Regions from separate parts of the Homo sapiens genome. Here region 2 is linked to region 1. The links are contacts of gene promoters, found by promoter capture Hi-C in human tissues and cell types (Jung and others, 2019). All regions are on one chromosome and are shown on one strand. Each heading gives the region's core, a stretch centred on a gene start or on the middle of the fragment in contact. The rest is flanking DNA. Distances are from core to core; before and after follow the strand shown. Region 1 holds the start of CLIP3 (CAP-Gly domain containing linker protein 3). Region 2 has its middle 25 kb from the start of ZFP30.

Evidence for each region. The method cuts DNA at HindIII sites, captures the fragments that hold promoters and counts their contacts. A contact is called where the count stands out against the background at its distance.
Region 2: a fragment that was not itself captured here is called in contact with the fragment with the promoter of CLIP3 in region 1 in 1 of the 25 tissues and cell types used here (small bowel).

The regions. Positions count from the first base shown.
Region 1 is chr19:36,030,611-36,034,489 of GRCh38, reverse strand. CLIP3 (CAP-Gly domain containing linker protein 3) reads left to right here and starts at 1,617. Exons shown (of 14, transcript NM_015526.3): 1 at 1,617-1,766; 2 at 2,075-2,298. The coding sequence starts at 2,133. The region is part of intron 3 of LOC101927572 (a long non-coding RNA gene); the gene reads right to left. The HindIII fragment of the contact is 12,641 bases long and covers 1-3,879 here.
Region 2 is chr19:37,678,795-37,682,673 of GRCh38, reverse strand. It overlaps the pseudogene ZNF781. Among named protein-coding and RNA genes, the nearest start is that of ZFP30, 25 kb to the right of the region's middle. The HindIII fragment of the contact is 6,868 bases long and covers 1-3,879 here.

The DNA.
Region 1 (3,879 bases), core at 368-2,867:
GGTGTGGTGGCACAGGCCTGTAATCCCAGCTACTCGGGAGGCTGAGGCAGGAGAATCACTTGAACCTGGAAGACAGAGGTTGCAGTGAGCAGAGATCATGCCACTCCACTCCAGCCTGGGGAACAGTGAGACTGCCATCTCAAAAAAAAAAAAAAAAAAGAGCCAGTGCAAAGGTCCTGGGGTAGGGAGAAGCAAGGAGGCCAGTGTGGCTGGGGTGGAGTGAACAAAAGAGGGTGAGAGGAGGTGAGTGCAGAGATGATGGGGCAGGTTCACATAGGCCCTTGTGGGCCATGGCTGAGAGCCTTGGCTTCTACCTGGAGTGAGGTGCAGCAGGCAGACCCCTCTGAGGGAAAGAGGGCTCCAAAGTGACAGGTGTTCATGGGTCCCTGTGGCTGCATGTTGGAGGAGGACGGGGACAGCAGGTAAGAGGCTGCTGCCGTAGTGCTGGTGGCAGAAGAAGAAGGATGGACCAAGATGAGGGCCCAGGGTAGCGGTGGGGAGAGTGAGATCCTGGAAATCTTTTGGAGATGGAGCTACTGGACCTGTGCATTAGAAGGATGAGGTGTTCAAGGCTGTCACCCAGCCCCATCCAGGCTGGGATGATTTGAGGCAGAGCAGGCTACAGCTCCAGGTGGGAAGCCAAGCCATGACAATGGAGCCAGGACCCTGGGCTGGCTTCAGGAGGCCTCCGTGGGGAAGATACAGGTTCTGAGAGAGTTGGAGGGGTCAATCGGCAGATCTGTTTCCCAGACACTGCTACAGGCATGTAGCATGGTGATTAAGAATCAAAGCTGGGCATGGTGACTCGTGCCTGTAATCTCAGCGCTTTGGGTGGCAGGGGCAGGAGGATCCCTTGAGGTCAGGAGTTCAAGACCAGCCTGGGCAACATGGCAAAACCCTGTCTCAAAAAAAATTCTCCAGACATGGTGGCATGCACGTGTGGTCTCGGCTACTCGGGAGGTTGAGGTGGGAGGATGGCTTGAGCCCAGAAGTTTGACGCTGCAGTGAGCCAAGATCACAACACTGCACAGTAGCCTGGGTGACAGAGTGAGACCCTGTCTAGGAAATAATAAAAATAAAAATCAGACTTTACAGACTGTCTGGTTTCAAATGTTCGCTCCATCACCTACTCATGTACTTTTGGGCAAGCTGCTTAACCTCTGGGCCCCAGTGTGTGAGCCTCGCATTATGATGGTAAGGATGAGATGATCATGATAGGAGTCTCTAGGAAATCACCCCTCTGAGGCACCCATTATGAATGGTGAGCTTGGAGAAGGGGTCCGGTCTAGGGTCCTAGAGAGAGGGTCCCCTAGAGGGTCCCCATCGTCACCACGCCCCAAGACCACTGCCCTCACCGGCCTGGTTTGCAGGCGTGGGGGAAGGGGATGGAGAAGATCTGTGTCCGCTCTCTCAGCCCTCTCTTTTGCCGTTGTATCTGCTCATCTCGCTCCTTTCCGTAGCCATCTCTTCCTCTCCCAGTGCCCGGAGGCTCTCCCCTTTCAGTCGCCGCCTCTGGCCCCTCCATCAATGCGAGCGCCTCCCGGTCCCTCCTCCTGGTCCCTCCTCCCCCGCCGCCGGTAGGGGGGCAGCAGGCGCATGCGCAGTCGCGCCCCTCCCTCTCCGCCCCCACCCCCTGTCGGCGTCTGGGCCTCGTCCCCTTCTCTCTGTCTCCCTTGCCTCCCCCATCACGTCCCCTGACACCGACACCCCATTGCTCCCACAGTCTCCCCAGTCTCCACTTTGGTCCCCAGCGCTGTCTGCCCGAGGTAAGATGGGGAGGGGGCGGCCCGCGGAGAAGGGGAGGGGCGAAGCATCCTGAATCCCGAGATAAACAAACCCGGGGAGGGGGCAGCCGCGACTGAGGGGCCTGACGCGGGAGGAGAAGAATGGGGGGCTGGGCCTGGGGGAGGTGGCAGGCGCTGGGCGCACACACCGGGGCCCTCTATGGGTAACGGGGGTCCCTATGGTTGCCCAAGATCCAGTTGCGCGGAGGCCACCCGGGGCCCTGGAAGCTCCTAGGGGCTTGGACCCTGGAGCCTGCCGGGCACCCTCTCCAGCTGACCTCTGCCTCCAGGATTTGCCTGAAGGCTGCCCCCAACTCTGCACCCGCCCCCCGAGGGCCACCGAGGACCATGACTAAGACAGATCCTGCCCCGATGGCCCCGCCACCCCGAGGAGAGGAGGAAGAAGAGGAGGAGGAGGATGAACCCGTCCCCGAGGCCCCCAGCCCCACCCAGGAGCGCCGGCAGAAGCCTGTTGTGCACCCCTCGGCACCTGCCCCCCTCCCTAAGGACTACGGTAACCACTGTCCCCACCCTGGAATCTGGCCTGGAGCGTTGGGTGGCCGGGGAGGGTGGGCTGTGCTCTGCTGGTGGTGATGGTGGGAGAATTCTGGGGAATTTGAAGGTGGTCCAGAGGAATCTTGGCTGCAGAGCACCCCTCGTTAATTCATTCATTCACCCATTGGAGAATGGAATTGTAATACTCCTAGTCTTTGACTCATGACACATCATTCCATCATTTAGTCATTCAACAATCATTTTTTGAAAGCGGCTGTGGACCTGGCTTTATGCTAGGGGCTGGGGCCACAGCAGGGGGCAAGAGAGACCCAGTCTTTGCCCTGAGACAACTCACAGGCCTCAGTAACAGCCACACAAATAGGTATTAAACCATAATGTAATTTTTCACATTTAGGTTTATATGCAAGAAAGAAAAATATAATGTAATATAAATATGTAATTACAAGACATTATGAAAATTGTATTTACCATAAACAAGCTGCTGCAAGAGTTTTTTAAGACATTGTTTCCCTGAGGAGGTTACAGTTGAGAAGACTGGAGGGTGAGTTGGGGTTAACTAAGAGAAGGGTCAGGGGAAAGGGCTCCCAGGAGAGGTAACCGCTGGGTAAAGGATCTGAGGTAGGAGGGTATGGAGCTGAGAGGGCGGCCTCTTGGAGAAACTGAAAGTGTCTAATCATTGACCGAGCGATATTTATCGAGTGCTGCTACTCTGTGACAAGCCTTATGCTGGGTGCCGGAGATTTAATCCTAAGTGATCCAGGCATGATCCTCCCTTGCAGGAGAGAAGGAGAGACTAAACAAGTGAACAGATAAATAAATCAGAAATCAGATAAATTCAGATTGGAGCAAGTGCTATGAAAGAAAGAAAAGGTGGGCTGGGCATGGTGTCTCACGCCTGTAATCCCAGCACTTTGGGAGGCTGAGGCCAGCGGATCACCTGAGGTCAGGAGTTTGAGACCAGCCATGGCCAACATGGTGAAACCCCATCTCTACTAAAAATACAAAAATTGGCTGGGTATAGTGGCATATGTCTGTAATCCCAGCCACTCGGGAGGCTGAGGCAGTAGAATCGCTTGAACCTGGGAGGCAGAGGTTGCCCAAGATCGAGCCACTACACTCCAGCCTGAGTGACAGAGTAAGACTGTCTCAAAAAAAAAAAAAAAAAAGAAAAAAAAAAAAAAGAAAAGAAAAAAAGAAAAAAGAAAAAGAAATTAAAGGTGGAGATACGATAATGACTAGGGGGCAGCTACCTGCAGGGGTAGTCAGGGCTGCTCTTTCTGAGTAGGTAACATTTAGTTTGGGACCCAGAGCATGGGGAGGAATCAGCCATAAGAGAGCTGGAAAAAGAGTGTTCCAGGCAGACAGCAGCAAGTGCAAAGGCCCTGAGGCAGAATTGAACTTGGAACAGAAAGATCCTGGAGCTGCATTCAGGGAATGATCGAGGTTGAGGTGAGAGGTTGGCATAGGCCAGATCTGGAAGGGCCTTCAAGGCTACAGTGAGGACTTTGGTTATATTCTAAGTGGGACAGGGGAGAAGAGTGGCAAGGGGAGGGTGTTTAAGAGCAGAGGAGTGGCAGGT
Region 2 (3,879 bases), core at 396-2,895, 1.6 Mb before region 1:
AGAAAATGTGGAAAATCACAAAGTAAAGATTACCTATAGTACGACAACAACGAAAAATCTTTCCAGATCTTATATATATCCACACACGTGTGGGTTTTCTGCCAAAAGTGGTTGACAGTCACTCTTCTGTTTGATAACTCTAGGATGACAATGACTATTCCGTTTAATAATGCTCTCTGTTCACTAGAAAATTGAGGTAAAAGATTTTTCATGTTACAAATTAAGGAGAAACTTTTTTTTTTTTTTTTGAGATTTGAGATGGGGTCTCCCTTTGTCTCCCAGGCTGGAGTGCAATGGTGCAATCATAACTCACTGCAGCCTCAATGTCCTGGGCTCAAGGATTCTCCTGCTTCAGCCTCCCAAGTAGTTAGGACTATAGGTGTGGGCTACCACACCTGGCTAGTTTATATATATATATTTTAGAGACAGGGGGTCTCTCTACATTGCCCAGGCTGGTCATGAATTCCTGGTTTCGAGTGATCCTCCCACCTCGGCCTCCCAAAGTGCTGGAATTACAGGTGTGAGTCACTGCGCCCCACCCCAAAGCTATCTTTTTTTTTTTTTTTTTTTTTTTGAGATGGGGCCTCACTCTGTTGCCCAGGCTGGAGTGCAGTGGCATGATCTTGGCTCACTGCAACCTCCGCCTCCTGGGTTCAAGTGATTCTTCTGCCTCAGCCTCCTGAGTAGCTGGGACTACAGGTGCACGCCACCACACCCAGCTAATTTTTTTTGTATTTTTAGTAGAGACGGGGTTTCACCATGTTGGCCAGGATGGTCTCGATTTCCTGACTTGGTGATCCGCCTGCCTCGGCCTCCCAAAGTGCTGAGATTGCAGGCATGAGCCACCGTGCCTGGCAAAGCTATCAGTTTTATGATTATCTTGTTTTTCATTATATTAATACAATAATGGTTTGTTAAACTGTTTCCTCTTTGTACACATTTAAATCTTCATTTGAATAGAATCTAAGATGTATAATTGCTGAGTTTAAGGCATGCCTGTACATGCTCATACATTTTTCTAAATATAATCTTATGTGCAGGATGCCCTGAGATTATTTCTCATGTAATCATATGGGGTGTAACCAGTTGTCTCATTTTGCTAATCTCATAACTGGGAAATGATATTTCTTTGTTGCTCTACTGTGGGCGGCAAGCCACCCAGGCGCCGAGGCAAGAGATCGAGGACACGAGCTGTTCCAGTATAATAAAATATAAAACAAGAATAGTTATACCAGATATAGATCTTAGAGATATATGAATATCATTAATCATTAGTTTCTAGTAATTACTCTTTATCCCAATATTATAATAATCCTCGCTCTACAATCATAACCTAGGAAAAACCAGGCCATACAGAGATAGAAGCTGAGGGGACATAGTGAGGTGTGACCAGAAGAGAAGAGTGCGAGCCTTCTGTTATGCCCGGACAGGGCCAGCAGAAGGGTTCCTTGGTCTAGCGGTAACGCCAGTGTCTGGGAAGACGCCCGTTGCCGAGCGGACGGTGGTCTAGCAGTAGCGAAAAGTGTCAAGGAACAATACCTGCTACTTAGCAGACCGGGAAAGGGAGGCTCCCTTTCCCCGGGGGAGTTTAGAGAAGACTGTGCTCCTCCACCTCTTGTGGAGGGCCTGACATCAGTCAGGCTTGCCCGCAGTTATCCAGAGGCCTGACCGTCTCCCTGTGATGCTGTGCTTCAGTGGTCACGCTCCTAGTCCGCCTTCATGTTCCATCCTGTACACCTGGCTCTGCCTTCTAGATAGCAGTAGTCAATTAGTGAAAATACTAATAGTCCCTGATATGCAGAAATAATGGCGTAAGCTGTCTTTCTCTCTGTCTCCTCTCCCTCTCTGCCTCGGCTGCCAGGCAGGGAAGGGCCCCCTGTCCAGTGGACACGTGACCCACGTGACCTTACCTATCATTGGAGGCGACTCACATTCTTTACCCTGCCCCTTCTGCCTTGTATCCAATAAATAACAGCACAGCCAGACATTCGGGGCCACTACCGGTCTCCGCGCATTGGTGGTAGTGGTCCCCCGGGCCCAGCTGCCTTTTCTTTTATCTCTTTATCGTGTGTCTTTATTTCTACACTCTCTCGTCGCCGTGCACAGGGAGAGACCCACCGACCCTGTGGGGCTGGTCCCTACACTCTACCATTCAAATCCTTGATTTCAAGTAGCATCTTACCTCTCTATTGAAATTTCTTTAGTAGTTGTTGTTTTAGAATTCTTCAAATTTATTTGCATCTTCTGCAAGGAAGTCTTCAAATTTATTTGTATCCTCTTTATTAAGATAGAGCGGGGGTCCCCAAAACCTGGGCCACAGACCAGTACTGGTCCTTGGCCTGTGAGGAACCAGGCCACACAGCAGGAGGTGAGTGGCAAGCAAGTGAGCAAAGCTTTCTCTGTATTTACAACCGCTCCTTATCACTCACATTACTGCCTGAGCTCCACCTCCTGTCAGATCAGCGGCGGCATTTGATTCTCATAGGAGCGTGAACCCTATTGTGAGCTGTGCATGTGAGGGATCTAGGTTGTGGGCTCCTTATGAGAATCTAATGCCTGATGATCTGTCACTGTCTCTCATCACCCCCAGATGGGACTGTCTAGTTGCAGAAAACAAGCTCAGGGCTCCCACTGATTCTACATTATGCTGAGTTGTATAATTATTCCATTATATATTACAATGTAATAATAATACAAATAAAGTGTACAATAAATGTAATGCACTTGAATCATCCTGAAACCACCCTGTCCCTACTCTGTGGAAAAATTGTCTTCATGAAACCAGTCCCTGATGCCAAAAATGTTGGGGACCGCTGAGATGGAGGTACTCCCTGCCCATCTTTACTGAGGTATAATTGACACATAAAAATTTTATATATTTAAATATATATTTATATATTTAATCTTTTGATAGAAATGTACATTGTGAAGTCATTGCCACTATCAAGCTAATTAACATATTCATTACACGATAGAGGTTTTAATAAGATATTTTGGGAAGATTCCCTCAAATGTTCCATTTTATTTTGTGAAAAGAGAAACTGTACTAAGAACTTTAGAGACTATCAGCCTCAAAGATTTGCTAAGATGCAGAAAAGCTGTTATTCTTACAGTTATGGTTTATTCTAGTAAAAGGATACATACTAAAGTCACCAGAAAGAAAAGGTACATGGACAAAGGTTAGGAGAAACCAGGTACAAGCTTTCAGGTGGCTGCTTCCAGAGGAGCTATACAGGGACACACTTAATGCTCCTAACAATGACATGTCACAACATTGTGTGAACTATTGCCAGCCAGGGAAGCTCACTTGAGCCTTGGTTTCCAGAGTTTTTATTGGGGAGTCAGTCTTGCAGGGATTTATCACTCAATACCTGACTTTAGCTACTCAGTCTCCAGTTCCCCAGATGTCAAACTGATACAGCATGCTCCAAGGCCTGTGGCATACAAAAACAATCTTATCAGGTAGGATATTTTAAGGGCTCAGAGGTTATCTCCCAAGAGCCAGTCAAGGGCCAGTTCTTTCTTTGGCACGTGCAGGATTTGAGCATTCCAGGTGTACTGAGTTACCTGTCCACTCACCCAGGCCTTGGCTTAGGCTCTCTTGTAGCAAAACTACCTGAGCAGCTACACAGAAACAGCAATAGTATCAGGATGTAGATGGCTATCATTTCAAGGAGCCAGTATGGAGTAGCAATGGATTTAAAGAAACAACTAACCTATCCAATAAAGCCATTACATGCATTCTCATATTTTTGTATTAATTTGATTACTCATTTCCCTCCTTGAATCTACTGTTATGTGCCACATGATAAACTTGTACAGAACTATTGAGCGTAGAAATTAGCTGATGGTTGGTTAAATTCTCCCTGAAGCCAGTCT